4 separate regions of the Homo sapiens genome follow, and all the other regions are linked to region 2. The links are contacts of gene promoters, found by promoter capture Hi-C in human tissues and cell types (Jung and others, 2019). All regions are on one chromosome and are shown on one strand. The core of a region is centred on a gene start or on the middle of the fragment in contact, and the rest is flanking DNA. Distances in the headings are between cores, read along the strand shown.

The links. Contacts are between HindIII fragments. The study calls those that stand out against the background at their distance.
Region 1: a fragment that was not itself captured here is called in contact with the fragment with the promoter of SYCE2 in region 2 in 2 of the 25 tissues and cell types used here (IMR-90 fibroblasts and lymphoblastoid cells).
Region 3: the fragment with the promoter of LYL1 here is called in contact with the fragment with the promoter of SYCE2 in region 2 in 1 of the 25 tissues and cell types used here (spleen).
Region 4: a contact is called between a fragment that was not itself captured here and the fragment with the promoter of SYCE2 in region 2, in 1 of the 25 tissues and cell types used here (pancreas).

What each region holds. Positions count from the first base shown.
Region 1 is chr19:13,063,913-13,067,781 of GRCh38, reverse strand. All of the region lies in intron 2 of NFIX (nuclear factor I X), which reads right to left. Among named protein-coding and RNA genes, the nearest start is that of LYL1, 37 kb to the left of the region's middle. The HindIII fragment of the contact is 5,516 bases long and covers 1-3,869 here.
Region 2 is chr19:12,917,179-12,920,871 of GRCh38, reverse strand. It overlaps SYCE2 (synaptonemal complex central element protein 2), which reads left to right and starts at 1,579. Exons shown (of 6, transcript NM_001105578.2): 1 at 1,579-1,629; 2 at 2,535-2,650. The coding sequence starts at 1,615. It overlaps MIR5695 (microRNA 5695), which reads right to left and starts at 552; the gene lies at 468-552. RefSeq lists an enhancer at 1,760-1,899. The HindIII fragment of the contact is 14,742 bases long and covers 1-3,693 here.
Region 3 is chr19:13,101,454-13,105,327 of GRCh38, reverse strand. It overlaps LYL1 (LYL1 basic helix-loop-helix family member), which reads left to right and starts at 2,470. Exons shown (of 4, transcript NM_005583.5): 1 at 2,470-2,797. TRMT1 (tRNA methyltransferase 1) reads left to right here. Exons shown (of 17, transcript NM_001136035.4): 16 at 1-61; 17 at 247-421. The coding sequence ends at 393. It overlaps LOC105372282 (a long non-coding RNA gene), which reads right to left and starts at 912. Exons shown (of 2, transcript XR_001753871.2): 1 at 684-912; 2 at 422-520. RefSeq lists enhancers at 728-787, 699-993, 928-1,007, cis regulatory regions at 417-997, 1,797-2,717 and a silencer at 2,088-2,697. The HindIII fragment of the contact is 28,419 bases long and covers 1-3,874 here.
Region 4 is chr19:13,166,815-13,170,641 of GRCh38, reverse strand. No RefSeq gene overlaps it. Among named protein-coding and RNA genes, the nearest start is that of IER2, 18 kb to the right of the region's middle. RefSeq lists enhancers at 19-519, 520-1,020, 2,713-3,340. The HindIII fragment of the contact is 8,994 bases long and covers 1-3,827 here.

The DNA.
Region 1 (3,869 bases), core at 809-3,308, 150 kb before region 2:
GGGGAGGTAGTTATGGCTCCCACTAGGGTGAGGGAGGAATTCCTGCTGGCTACAGCCAACACTGCCCTCAGCTCCTGCTCGAAACAAACTTGTACTGTGAAAGGGGCCATGTATAATTTGCTGGCCAATTGCCCCCACGGACTTTGGCCTAACAAGTTTTATGGAGGCTGAGGGGTGTGCACAGATTTGGCCTTAGCTGAACCCACATATGCATACCCAGGTATGTGCATACACTTGGATGCATACACTCATATGCTCAGACTCAGACACACACATACACACACACACACACACACACGCACACACACACACACACACGCGCGCACACACACGGAGGTGCCACTAACCACTTCTTGCCGTCCAGAAAGGGTGGAGTGAGATGGTACATCTGGAGCCACCAGAGAGGAATCCCCTTCAACTCTGCAGGAACCGCTGGCCTTTGGAAACGGGGAGAACAGCCCTTGGGGTGTGCCTGCCCATCCCCTGGCCCTCCCAGGCCTGACATTCCAGAAGCAAGTGGGGGTACATTCTGTTCTGGGGGTGCCTCTGGGCAGCTGCAACACCCCATCCTCTGAAGGGCTGATGCGATTCTGGGGCCAATCACTGGCCCTCCCAGCACTGCACCCGCCTCCTACTTCTCTCCCGCTTCCTCTGAGATTCTGGAGCGTCCAGGGCACAGGAAACCCAATCTCAAGGGGAGCCAGAGGCCCTGCCTGTAGCAATCAGAGCTGGAGAATGTAACTATTGTGCCTCCTGAAACTGAAGTCTGAGAATCTGAGACACCCTGAGGAGGGGAACGGTGGATAGATGGGGGGCTAAGGGGACGGGTCACAGAGGGGTTCTCCCCGTCTCAGCAGACAGGAGACTCAGGGGACCAAGGAAGTCCTTGAGAATGCAGGGCAGCCAGAGGGCCGGGGGATGAGGCTTGGCCAGGGTCTGGGCCCACGGGGCTTCTAGGATCTTCCTCTCCTTCTCTCCATTCCTCACCCTGCTCCACCAGCCACCATGCATGTGCACACACACATGTGCACAAACACACACACACATGCACACACACATCCTGGAGTCATCCTGAGGTGGCAGGTTTTTCCCTCCTCTGTCATCCCTAGAGTCTCACATGGTTTAAAGCCGGAGCCTGAACAAGAAGCAGAGCCCGCAAGCTGTGGGTGGGGGCAGGGATAAGGACAGGGGAACATGTCACCCCATTATCGTCCTCTCCCCTTTCCTCATTCCCTCCCTGCTCACAGATCCAAAGGGGCTTCTGCCTTTGACTTGACTGACCTGCTGGAGATGGGGGAAGAGGACATGGCAGAGGGGATAAGTGACAGGAAAGAGGAAGAAACCGAGTGACACCCACATGTGGTCTAGGCCTGCTCTGGCTGCCCCTAGGGCCTAGGCTCAAGAAAAGCCATTGTTGGGGGCGGGGGGGTAGGGAAGGCACAGGAACCTGGCAGATGAAGGGCCAGCATCTGGATGGGACATTCCCCTCTCCATCCCCTGACCCCAGGAAGAACTACTTTCTCCATTCCAACACATCCCGGCCTCTACGGGTGCCCCTGGAGCAAGTGCCAGGCCTGGCTACTACAGGACTCACAGCTCGGCAGTAAGGCTTCGGGAAGCGAGGAGAAAGCAAGTCCATCAGCTCATCTTGTACCCAGGAGACCAGCAGAGCAGTCTCACACTTCATCTGAAAGCCTCAGGCCCCACACGGTGTCGAGGTGAAGAAGGCCTGTCTCCTACAGTCCTTGGTTGCCTCCACTCCCCATGTGGAGATAGACTCATAGCCAGAAGCCTTCCAGCCACACAGCCCATCACTGCCTCCCTCATATAATGAGAAAGGTGTTCCTAAGCTTAAAATTTTCCTCCAGGAAAACAATAGAACTCCCACCTCCCTTCCATCCCCAGCAAGTGGCCCCGGAGCCCTCCAGGGAGTTCTTCTGGTGTGAGCTACTCAGCGTTCTCTGCTTGGCTCCCGTTCATTAGCAGCCGTCCCCAGCCCAGGGAGAACTCCTTTAGATGGGCCCAGGCATGGAGCGGCAGAAGAAGCCAGGAGGCACTGGGGAACTGAATGCTCAGTTGCTCTTCCCCAAGGGATGACAGGCAGTGGCCAGCAAAGGAGAGAGAGAAGGGATATGCCCCTGGTGCACAACAGAGCACCCAGCAGGTGGACAAAGGCCCACCTGCCAATGGCCACTCCAGGATCAGCCCAACAGTTAATAAATGAGACCCCCAGCCACAGCAGCAATGGGACATGCGAGTGGGCCTGCAGGCTCCTCCTGTGTCTGCCCATGGCAAGGTGACCCAGCACCAAACCTAGCACCTCAGATACCTGACTATGGAGGGAACAAGTGGACCCAGGGCATGGCAGCAGCACTGTCTGGGGTGTTTCAGAGATACCTGGGGTAGGAATTCCCATCAGAGCAGAAGAGATTGAAGATGACAGGCAAAGATCAGGCAAGGAAGAAGGCAAAGAAAAACATCTTGGGCAGGAGCCATTGGCCTGGGTCTGCTTCCCCTGTCCTCTGAGCCTGCCCTTGGCCTACCCAGGGAGGTGCCCTTGGTCTGGAGCCTGTGTCCACTGAGGGGGTACAACACAGTGCTCTACCACTGTGGATACCCTATCCTGGGTGAGCTGGCCTTGCCCCAGCACAGAGGGGCCGAAGGGGGCATGCTGAAATGGAGGGTAGGAGGAGGAAGGAGGTGGGTGGCCAGCAACGGCATACCAAGGCTCCCCCAATTCACATCCGTGCTCCAGAACCTACCAGCCTGTGACTTTGGTCAAGTTATGAACTGTTTCCTCATCTGTAAAAGGGAGATAACACCTACCATTAGCATTCCTGGGTAAGGAATAAATGAGAAAACATGTATAATAAGGTGCTTAGCTCAGGGCCTGGCTCATAGTTGGGGCTACATAAATGTCGCCTGTCCTTCCACCTGGATTACTATTTCCCTTCATCTCCATTTGCTGAATGCTTATTCCTCCTTCTCAACTCTGTTCAAATGCCACCTCCCACCCTGGTGGGGGAAGCTGTGGCTGACCCTCAGCTCCCCTCCCCAGGAGCTCACGCTCTTGAGTACATGGTGAGTGTGTCCTAGATTGCAGTTTTTGGTGTCTTGACCCAGGGACCACTGCCAGTGAACAGAGGGGCTCCCTTGGGGCCTGGCCCACTACCATCTACAAAGAGCAACAGAGAGGTTTCTCTGCAAATATAATGGCAGAGCCTGGGCAGACACCTGTACAGGCATATCCCTCCCCACATCGGTGTGCAATAGCCATCCAACGGTCTCAAGACAGTCACCATACTAGAAACAGGGGTGGGGGAGAGAGGGCCAACAGGGAAAAGGGAGGATAGAGCTTGTCCCCCTAGACTCTGGGAGTGCTAGGCCCAAGGCCTGCCCAGCCCAGCCCAGCCTTGGAATACAGAGAGCTGAGAAAACCAGGAGCACAGGCACAGGCCCATGGGCGTCCAGGCCAGGCGCCTCTCCTGGCAGTGCTGGCTGGTGCCACGATTCAGCCGGCAGCTGGAGCCAGCATTTCTGAGAGGGCCTGGGGCCAAGAGTCATGTGATGGTGGGGTCCAGGCAAGCGGCCCCCAGCCCCTGAAGCTTCTATCCCCTCCCCAACTTGACGAAGAAAAACTGACAGTGGAGAATGCCCTCCATACCCCACATGTCAAGAAAAGAGAGGGGCCCTGGGGAGGGGGGGGGTCCCATCCCAGCAAGGGGCCTGCAGAGCTGCTCTTCCACCCCCACCCGCTTTCTCTATTTCCAGCACTGCCCTTTCTGGCCCTTTGAGCTGCCCAGGACAGGACAGGCTGGCCAGACAATCACCCTCACCCCCAGCTGCTCTTAGGGCTATTAATAGTGTCC
Region 2 (3,693 bases), core at 330-2,829:
GCTCACAGCAGCCTCAGCTTCCCAAGCAGCTGGGATTACAGGTGCCCGCCACCATGCCTGATTAATGAAAAGTGTCTTATGCTTAGGTTCAGCAAAGTTTGAACACCCAGGTAGAAATTTGATTGGACAAAAAGGGTTTGTCGTGGTTCATACTTGTAATCCTGACACTTTGGGAGGCTGAGGCGGGTGGATCACTTGAGGCCAGGAGTTTGAGACCAGCCTGAGCAACATGGAAAAACCCCATCTCTACTAAAAATACAAAAATTAGCTGGGCATGGTGCATCTGTAATCCCAGCTACTTGGTTGGCTGAGAATCGCTTGAACCTGGGAGGCCAAGGTTGCAGCGAGTTGAGATCTTGCCACTGCACTCCAGTGTTGCCTGGACAACAGAGCAAGACAAAAAAAAAAAAAAAAAAAAAAAGCCGGGGGGGTCGTCTAATACTAATAGGCTGAGTGGGGAAACCCAGCAAGGCCTATCTGTCTAGATTCTTCTTGGAGTCTCAGGAATGCATGCTCAGAGAGGCCAAGAAGAATCTAGATAGATAGGCCTTGTGTGGGGCAGAAACTTCTTTGAAACGGGGGTCTTATGACCTACAGTCAATAGGGTAGATCAGATAATTTCTTCTTTTTTTGAGACAGCACTTTGGGAGACCAAGACGGGAGGACGGCTTGAGCCCAGGAGTTGGGGATCAGCCTGGGCTCAGCACAGTGAGATCTCATTTCTACAGGAAAAAAAAATATAATTATGTGTGTGTGTGTGTGTGTGTGTGTGTGTATATATACATACAATCTTTTTTTTTTTTTTGAGACGGAGCTTTACTCTGTCACCCCGGCTGGAGTGCAGTGGCATGATCTCAGCTCACTGCAACCTCTGCGTCCTGGGTTTAAGCAATTCTCCTGCCCCAGCCTCCCGAGTAGCTGGGACTATAGGCGCCCGCCACCACGCCCGGCTATTTTTTGTATTTTTAGTAGAGACAGTTTCACCATGTTGGCTAGGCTGGTCTCGAACTCATGACCTCAGGTGATCCACCCGCCTCGGCCTCCCAAAGTGCTGGGATTACAGGCGTGAGCCACCGCGCCCGGCCAGAAAAATATTTTTAAATTAGAAGGGCCTGGTGAATGACACTGCTACTCAGGAGGCCGAGGCAGGAGGATCGCTTGAACCTGGGAGGTCGAGGCTACAGTGAGCTGTGATCGCACCACTGCACTCCAGCCTGGGCGACAGACCAAGATCTTGTCTCAAAAAAAAAAAAAAATTGTTATGGAGTATATTTTCCAAGGCAGAGTGGATGAAGTTAGAAGCACCGAATAAATACAGGACTCTGAGATCCGTATAACCTGGGCGCCCCGTGGAACCCAGGAGCCTCACAGGGGCACACAAGCGCACCCAGAGCGCGCCGTCCTGCTCCCAAGGGGCGCCGACTGCGCGCGCAGCCCGCGGACCGCGAAACTGCTGCTTAACGGTCGGCCCCGCCCAGTTGGCCGCGCAAGTTCTCAAAGAGGGCGGGGCCGGGAGCACGCGTCACAACACACTCGTCCGCGGGAGCGCAGCTGGCCAGGGGCGGGGTCGGCGCATGCGCAGAGGGTGCGAGCTTGAAGGCGGGAAAATACGGAATGGAGCGACAGGGAGTACGCGGCGCTTGTTTCCTTCTCGCGCGTGGGGCGGGCGGACAGATAGGCAGGGAACGGCTGCGATCCCAGCCATCTCCAGCGGACCCGAGCCCGGCCGCTTGTCCTTTGCCATTGGGGCTCCCTCTCATCAGGCCTGGCCTCAAATTTCCTGACTGACTGAACCCGGCCCTGACTGACGCACTGACGGGTCTGATTTCCACACATGGCGCGTGGCCGGAACGGAGTAGAGAAAGGCACAAACACCCACGCACCGCACCCGTTTCTTTCATTTCTTTTTTTTTTTTTTTTTGAGACGAAGTATCACTCTGTCGCCCAGTCTGGAGTGCAGTGGCGTGATCTCGGCTCACTGCAACCTCTGCCTCCCGGGTTCAAGTGATTCTCCTTCCTCAGCCTCCCGAGTAGCTGGGATTACAGGCACGCACCACCACGTCAGCTAATTTTTGTATTTTTAGTAGAGACGGGGTTTCACCATATTGCTCAGGCTGTTCTCGCACTCCTGACCTCGTGATCCGCCCGCCTCCGCCTCCCAAAGTGCTGGGATTACAGGCGTGAGCCACCGCGCCCGGCCTCATCTCTTTTCTCCTACCTCTTCTCCTTTCTCGAAGGACTCCAGCCAACACACATACCAGTTAGGAGCCCAGGTCCTCCAGTTACATTCCCACAGCCCTGCCCTCACCCGGCCCCTCTAGGTCTGGTGTCCTGGTGTCCCCTAGGGACAGAGTGTCCTTTCACCCCATGCCCCTGCCCTCATGGCACCTGCCCCAGCCCTGCCCGTCTTTCCTGCGGGTCCCCACCGTCCCGCAGCAGCACATCGAGGTGACCAGGGTTGAAGGGTCGGCAGGAGGGCGATCTGTTCACTCCTCATCCTCCCTCCTTGGCCTCCGTCCTGACTGTGCTTGCAGGTGGACGTGCCCCATGTGAAATGCAAAGACCAGGAACCGCAGCCCTTGGGGGAGAGCAAGGAGCATCCGCGGTGGGAAGAGAACTGCGAGGAGGAAGCTGGTGGAGGGCCAGCTAGGTGAGGAAGATCCCAGCCCTATGGGTCTACACAGGCCCCTGGGTCCCTCTCATTCACCCTTTTCTTCCACAAGGCTATGCCAGTGTCTGCTGCTTTTTTTTTCCCTCCTAACACAGCGTCTTGCTTTGTCACCACGCAGTGGCATGATCACGGCTCACTGCAACCTCCACCTCCCAGACTCAAGTGATCCTCCCACCTCAGCCTCCGAAATGGCTGGGACTAGAGGCGGGCCAGAATGTCGGGCCAATTTATTAAAAAATATTGGCCAGGTGCAGTGGTTCACACCTGTAATCCCAACACTTTGGGAGGCCAAGGCGGGTGGATCACCTAAGGTCGGGAGTTTGAGACCAGCCTGACAAACATGGAGAAACCCCGTCTCTACTAAAAATACAAAATTAGCTGGGCATAGTGGCACATGCCTGTAATCCCAGCTACTCAGGAGGCTGAGGCAGGAGAATCGCTTGAACCCAGGAGGTGGAGGTTGCAGTGAGCTGAGATGGCGCCATTGCACTCCAGCCTGGGCAAAAAGACCGAAACGCTGTCTCAAAAAAAAAAAAAAAAAGCCAGGAATGGTGGCTTATGCCTGTAATCCTAGCACTTTGGGAGGCCGAGGGGGGTGGATCAAAAGGTCAAGAGATGGAGACCATCCTGGCTAACATGATGAAACCCCGTCTCTACTAAAAATACAGAAGTTAGCTGGGTGTTGTGGTGCACGCCTGTAGTCCCAGCTACTCGGGAGGCTAAGGCAGGAGAATCGCTTGAACCCCAGAGGCAGAGGTTGTAGTGAGCCGAGATCATGCCACTGCATGCCAGCCTGGTGACAGAGTGAGACTCCGTCTCAAAAAAAAGAAAAAAGAAAAATTTAGTAGGCCGGGCACGGTGGCTTACGCCTGTAATCCCAGCACTTTGGGAGGCCAAGGCAGGCAGATCATGAGGTCAGGAGTTTGAGACTAGCCTGGCCAATATGGTGAAACCCTGTGTCTACAAAAATTAGCCAGGCATGGTGACAGACACTTGTAATCCCAGCTACTCAGAAGGCTGAG
Region 3 (3,874 bases), core at 1,221-3,720, 180 kb before region 2:
GGAAGATGTGGCCCAGCGGGCTGCCCGGCTCAAGACATTTCCTTGCAAGAGGTTTAAGGAGGTGAGGTCCCTCCTCCCTTTCCTCCACTGCAGGACACATGAGTCTCCCCTTTGGGCAACAGGGAGAGAATTGGGGGAGCTGGGGCCAGGCAAGTGTTTGGGAGTGGGCTTCCCATCCCAGGAAAGGATCCCATCAGGGGCTGCTGAGCTCCGGGCAGGGGTTCACACCCACCATCTTCCCACCAGGGCACCTGTCAACGCGGGGACCAGTGCTGCTACTCCCACAGCCCCCCGACACCCAGGGTTTCTGCTGATGCTGCCCCTGACTGTCCAGAGACCTCCAACCAGACCCCCCCTGGACCTGGGGCTGCCGCTGGGCCAGGCATAGACTGAACCAATAAAGAGATGTCACGTCACCTTCTCCCGATTGCCTGTGGTTTGTGTATTGGTCCATACAGCTGCATGACTGGGATCTGTTCCTCTGGGGATCGTTCGCCCCTGCCTGGCTGGAGTGTTGAGTCTGTATGGGAGGTAGGAGCTGACCATCTGCACAGTGGTCGGCCCCTCTGCAGCGAGGGTCACTGAGCCACCCCAGAGCCGGAGCCAGCGATTCCCGAAGCGGCCACGGGGCGGCAGCTGTGCGCTCGCTCCCGCGGGGGTTCTGCCCCTCTTCCCCCTCCCACCTTCAGCGCTCTCCAGGCCACGGGCTTGCGCATAGTGGGGCGCTCCTGCCCGGTAGCCCCCACGTGTCTTCGCGCCGCTGCCTCCTCGCCGCCTGGTTTCTTTGGCCCAGCTCTCCAGGGGCCACAGTGGCGGAAGCTGGACCGGAACCAGGCGCCCTGTGCATCCGCTCCAGACCAGGTGCTTCCTGCCCTGAGGCCCGGGGCGAGGGGGGCGTGCACACAAAGAGGGACCTCGCAGGCTGCTGCCCAGACACCCAGTGAGGGGGAGCTGTACCCCTCCCTGCCCTCCAGAGTGGGGTTTAGTAACGTTAACGAAGAGTCCTGGGGCAGGATCCCCTCTCTGGCTCCTGCTCCCTTCATCCCCATCTGTAATGAGGCTAATCTTAGGACCCTCCTTGTAGCGATATCAGAGTTAGCGCTTAATTTTTTTTTTTTTTTTTTTTTTTTTGAGGCAAGGTCTAGGTGTGTGGCCCAGGCTGGAGTGCAGTGGCGCAATATTGGCTCACTGCAGCCTCCACCTCCCAGGCTCACGCCATCCTCCCACCTCAGCCTCCAGAGTAGCAGGGACTACAGGCACGCACCACCACAACCAGCTAATTTTTGTATTTTTTGTAGAGATGGGGTTTTGCCATGTTTCCCAGGCTGGTCTCAAACTCATGAGCCCAAGCAATCCGCCAGCCTCAGCCTCCCAAAGTGCTGGGATGACAGGCATGAGCCACCAAGCCCGGCCTTTACTGCATAAAACTTTAGTTCCTGCTTCTTTGGAGGAAAGCAATGGAGGTGTTGATCGTGGGGTCCTGGGCTCCACCCCATTCCTGGGCGGGGGGGGGGGGGGGTTGGTAGTCCTGCTGCTGGGTGCCTGCCTGCCTGGGGGCTCTTGCAGTTGCCCAGATACACAGACGGGCCAAAGCATGAGTATCACAAGTGGGTGGCAGTCTGGTAGCTGCTGCTGCCTGGCTGTGCCCAGAGCCTCTCCCTGTGGGAGGCTCCAGTAGGGTCTTGAGGTTTACCACCAAGCCAGGATAACTGCCCCCCATGAAGGGGCCGGGTGCTGTGGGGTGAGGGCCATGGACCACCAAGTTGGAGTTATGTGATCCTGTAGCCAAGAGGCCTATAGTTGTGGGGACCTGTTGGGCATCTACTGGAAGGTCACACCAGCCCCAGCACCCTAGGAAATCCAACTTCCCCACCCCACCCCTGACAGCCATGGCTCTTCCTCTCACCCTCCTGGGCTTGGAAATGTGTGGATACTGTGCTGAGGGCTTGGGACACCTGCCCAGGCTGGACACCCAAGGCCAGACTGTTAGAACTGTTCCCCTTTGGGTGCCCCACTCCCGGGTAGGGGTGGTGGAGAGGAGGGAAGGGCCTCTGTAAAAAGAGGAACCAGGCTGGGTGAGGAGAGGAGGTGGGGGCCCAGGGTCACGCGGCCCCAACGGGCCGGAAAGGGCTCTCCCTCACCCCCATCAGCACAGACATTCGGGCAGGGAGTGTGCAAAGCCAAAGGGCAGACTCGGACATAAGAGGAGGCAGCTTCCCTGCCTCAGTTTACCCCCTGCGTGCATCCAGGCACCTCCCTCCCCGGCTGCCCTGGGGCCCGGGTCCCCAGAGGCCCGGGGTCCCTACAGTGGCTGGGGGAGCGGAAGGCGAAGCCCTGAGGGGTGGCGGACCGAGTCCTGCCAGCGCCGGCTGGGGGCGGGGCCGGGAGGCCCGCGCTGCTAGGTCCCCGCCCGCTGGTTTCCTCCGGGGTCAGCCAGGCTCCTTATCAGGCGCGGCCAGGCAGCCTGGCCCTTATCTGCACTGGGCCAGCATCCTCCGGCCGCTGCGCCGCCAGGGGTGAGAGGGAGGAAACCGGGCCGCCGGGGGCGGGGAGAAGGCGGGCCGGCCCGGGAGCCGCTCACTTTCCCTGGGGGGGACCTACGCGGAGACCTCGGCTATCCTGGCCTTCCGAGGCCCACGAGGAGGCGCGGCCCAACGCCGGGGCCTGGAGCATTGAGGCCGGACCCTCGCGAGACAGCAGAGCCTGGCCTGACGCTGGAAACCACACCCTGGCCCAGACTGCCAGCCCTGACGGGACAGAGCCAGGGCACTCACCAGGCTGCAAGAACAGTGCTGGGGTAAGAGGGGAGCGGGCCTAAAGGTGGAGGATCCCGGGCCTGGGACCCAGCCTGCATTCCTTTGTTCATTCCTTCATTCATTCATTCACCAGCAGGGACCCACTAGTGAGGGGCCAGGCCTGCTTCCCCAGGGCCTAGCTGAGGAAGACAGGGCAGAGGGGCCAACAGTCTCACACCTTGCTGGGACATCCTGGACTCTGGAACCAAGAGCAAACAGGGATGTCAAAACAGTATGCAAAACTGTGGATGATCGCGGGGCATTGTGGTGCATGCCTGTAATCCCAGCACTTTGGGAGGCTGAGGCAGGAGGATCACTTGAGCCCAGGAGTTCCAGACCACCCTGGACAACAGAGTGAGAACCTGCCTCTACAAAAAAAATTTTTTTTTTTAAATTAGCCGGGCATGGTGGCACATGCCTGTACTCTCAGCTACTCAGGAGGCTGAGACAGGAGGATGGCTCGAGCCCAGGAATTTGAGGCTGCAGTGCACTATGATTGCACCACTGCACTCCAGCCTGGACAACAGAGGGAGACCCTGTCTCTAAAAAAATAAACAAATTTTAAAAAGCGTGGATGCTGATGAGGATGGGGGCTTCCAAGCCAGAGGGAGGGTTGGGGCATGACTGGACTGGACTGGGCAGTGGGGTCAGTGTTTGGGGGTCTAGGGTCAGCATTTGAGGTCATAGTGTCAGTAGTGGGGTCACAGGGTTGCTATGGGGGATGTTTGCAGTGGGAGTGGGGGTCACTCAAGCAATTATGGAGCACTTTCAGGGACAGCAATGGGAAGAACCGCAGGGTCATTCTTGAGGTGCAGAGGGTCAGCCTGGGTGGGGGCTGGGGGCCTTCCGTGAAGGGTCAGAGTCCATCTTGGAGGGATTCCAAGCTCACATGGCATCAATGAGTTAATGAGGAGTCTCTGGGTTGGATCTTTAGATCTGAGGATAACAGGGTTAATCTTGGGGTTTCTGGGGATCCCAGGATCAGTTAGGGGCTCCCTGTCTTGTTCCCTCTCCAGGCTGCAGAGGTGAGGGAATTCTGGAAGAAGGAATATTTGCTCAGAGGCTGGGCAACAGCGCCC
Region 4 (3,827 bases), core at 1,198-3,697, 250 kb before region 2:
ACCATGCCTGGCCTAAGAAAAAAACTTTTTAAATTAGCTGACCATGGTGGCCCACATCTGTAGTCCCTGCTACTCAGGAGGGTGAGGTGGGAAGAATTGCTTGAGCCTAGGAGTTTGAGGCTGCAGTGAGCTATGATCATGCCATGAGCTCCAGCCTGGGTAACAGAATGAGACCCTGTTTCAATAAAAAAACAAAACACAACAAAACAGGAGTTGGAAGACAAAGTTTTGGAGAAGAAGTGAGATTCTCACTGGCCTGGAACACCAAGCAAGAGGGGGCTTGGGGCTGCCTGGGTTGCTGGGAAGAGCTGCCAAGGGACCTGTCCAGTCTGGGGAGTGGCCAGGCCAGCAGGGAAGACAGCAGGAGCATCCCTCCTAGCTGAGCATTGTCCCCATCTTTTCAAAATTTACAGGTCAGCTGCCAGGGAGGGAGCCACCCAGAGCAGAGGATGGGCTCACTCGGGTTATCTGGGACAATCACAGGTAACCTCAGTCTGTCTGAGGCAGCCTGAGGGTGGGGCAGAGAATTTCCCAGGAGCCCTGTGGGGTGGGGTGTGCCTGGCTGTGTGGGACCCGCTGGGCCTGGACAAGGCAACTCTGAGAGTTAAGGAGACCGAGCTAGCCCGTCCAGTCTGACCAGAAACCCAGGCTCAAGGTTGGGATATGAGGCCATGGGGGTGGATCCTAGCTCCAGACTCCCAGCCTCAGGGACAGGGCTGGCTTAGTCATCGTGGAACCACTGGGAAGTTGAGGGATGTGTGTGCCTGCCCCACCCTCCACCCCAGGGATGTCCAGAGAGTCATGAGAAAGAGGGACAATGACCAGGCGTAGTAGCTCATCACAGTACTTTGGGAGGCAGAGGCAGGAGGCTCACTTGAAATCAGGAATTGGAGACCAGCCTCAGCAACATAGCAAGACCCCATATCTGCAAAAAAAATTAAAAAATTAGCCAGGCATGGTGATGTACACCTATAGTCCCAGCTACTTGGGAGGCTGAGGTGGGAAGATCACTTGAGCACAGGAGTTCAGGGCTGCAGTGAGCTATGATCATGCCACTACATTGCAACCTGGGTGACAGAGTGAGACCCTGTCTCTAAAAAAACAAACAAAAGAAAAAAGAAAAAGAAGAAAGGCCGGGCTCACGCCTGTAATCCCAGCATTTTCAGAGGCTGAGGCTAATGGATAACTTGAGGCCAGGAGTTTGAGATCAGCCTGGCCAACATGGTGAAACCCTGTCTCTACTAAAAATACAAAAATCGGCCAGGCATGGTGGCACATGCCTGTAGTCCCAGGTACTGGGGAGGCTGAGGCAGGAGAATTGCTTGAACCTGGGAGGTGGAGGTTGCAGTGAACTGAGATGGCACCACTATACGGCAGCCTGGGTGGAAAAAAAAAAAAAGTCAAGTAAAAGAAAGAGGCACAAGCCTGGGAGAAAGGAGGGGAACCAATGAGGATCCCAGGCATATGGAGATACAGCAGTGCCCACTCAGTGCTCAGAGAACAAAGGCCCTCCCATGAACACCCCCAATTACAAGTGGCCTCATCATAGCACTGCTGCCCTGCCCCTGCCAGAGCTGCAAAGCAAAGCAGAGAGAGGTTACATTATAGACATGTAACAAATGTTCTTATGTACGCCATACATATGCAAAAATAACTGATTTTCTTGAGACTGGGCCTTGCTTTGTTACCCAGGCTGGAGTGCAGTGACATGATCATAGCTCACTGCAGCCTCAAACTCCTGGGCTCAAGCCACCCTCCCGCCTCAGCCTCTAGAGTAGCTGGGACTACAGGTGTGCGCCACCACACCTGGCTAATTTTTTGCAGAGATGGGGGTGTGGTGGTCTTGCCATGTTGCATAGGTTGGTCTCGAACTCCTAGCCTCAAGTGATCATCCCACCTCAGCCACTCAAAGCTTTGGAATTACAGGCATCAGCCACTTTGCCTGGCTTAATTTTTTTTTTTTTTTCAGATGGAGTCTCAAAGTCTGGAGCAATGAAACCTCCTCCTCCCGGGTTCCTGATTATCCTGAGTCAGCCTCCTGAGTAGCTGGGGCTACAGGTGCATGCCACCACCACCAGCTAATTTTTGTATTTCTAGTAGAGTCAGGGTTTCACCATGTTGTCCAGGCTGGTCTCGAACTCCTGACCTCAAGTGATCCACCTGCCTCGACCTCCCAAAGTGTTGAGATTACAGGCGTGAGCCACTGCACCCTCTGAAACCCATGGTGAAACCCTGTCTCTACTAAAAATACAAAAAGTAGCCAGGTGTGGTGGCGCACGCCTGTCGTCCAGCTACTCGGGAGGCTGAGGCAGGAGAATCATTCGAACCTGGGAGGTGGAGGTTGTAGTGAGCTGAGATCACACCACTGCACTCCAGCCTGGGCGACAGAGTGAGACTCTGTCTCAAAAAAGAAAAAGAAAAAGAAAAAAAACCTCCCAGACTGAAGAGAAGGCTTTGGTAGATCCAGGGGCATGCACCCTCAGCTTCCCCCTCCAAACTGGCTTCATATCCAACCCTCATGGGAGGGAATTTCTGGTCCCAAACAGCATGACAGTACTTTGAAAATTCCAGTATCTGTTTATAAGGTAGTGTCCGCAGGGATTTGGAAAGTGTCTGGAGAACGCGTGGAAGGCAGCGCGCAGACTTTAGTGGCCTCCCCCAGCCAGCAGCACGAAGGGGTAAAAGGGTCCCAAGAGCCCCACCCCACCTACCGCCACCTCATCCTGAGTCTGAGAGCTGCAGCCCGCACAGACCAGGCAGTGAGTAATTGCAGGTTTGCTTCAAGCCTTCCGGGTCGTGAGAAACCAAAGTTTCACTCCGGAAGGGCGCGCCTCGGCAGCAGGGGAGAGAAGGAAGGGGGTTGGGGGTGGGGTGGTCTCAGGTGGAGGTTGGCAGCGAGCTGGCCTGGAGCCCAGGCTCCAGAGCTTACCAAGCCCCAGCTGCTGGGCCCCGGCCCCTCTGGCCTCTGACACGCCCCTGACTAGGCGGCCTCCCGACAGGCCCTCCCTGCCCCCCGGTCTAAAGGCTGAAGCAATGAGCCATTTCCTTTCCCGTGAACTCAGCCAGGGCCCCGCTGATTGCAGACACCACCAGCAAGGATGGGTACCAGGAAATGGCGGGGGCAGAGGGAGGAGATTGCAGCAGCCTCTCCAGTCTAGCAGTTTGATCATGCTCAGTAAATAATGTTTACAAAACAAGTAAATAAACAAGTGAGGGTGGGGCGCAGTGGCTCACGCCTGTAATCCCAGCACTTTGGGAGGCTGAGACAGGTGGATCACGAAGTCAGAAGTTCAAGATCAGCCTGGCCAAGATGGTGAAACCACATCTCTACTAAAAATACAAAAATTAGCCGGGCATGGTGGTGCACACCTGTAATCCCAGCTCCTCAGGAGGCTGAGGCAGAGAATTGCTTGAACCCGGGAGGCGGAGGTTGCAGTGAGCCGAGATCGCGCCTTGCACTCCAGCCTGGGTGACAGAACGAGACTCCATCTCAAAATAAATAAATTTAAATAAACAAGTGAACAACAGCAAACAAAAAACTTTGTCTTTACCCAGCCCCTGGACTGAGCGTGCACAGATTGACCCCTGGGGAAGTGTTCATCCTGCAGAAAGGGGAGAAGAGAGGAAAATGAAGTGAAGTGGCAAATGATTCTAAGAGGGAACCTGGTGAGTGATCAGCCCTGGATATGAGGAAAGAGAAAACAGGTAGCCCAGGAGTGGCAAGGAGACCTGGGGTGCGGCTCTCAGCTCCCAGAAGGAGCTGGTTCCTTATCTGAGAACCAGAGATAGAAGCTGGGTTTAAGCAAAAGTTCACCAACCAGGACAAA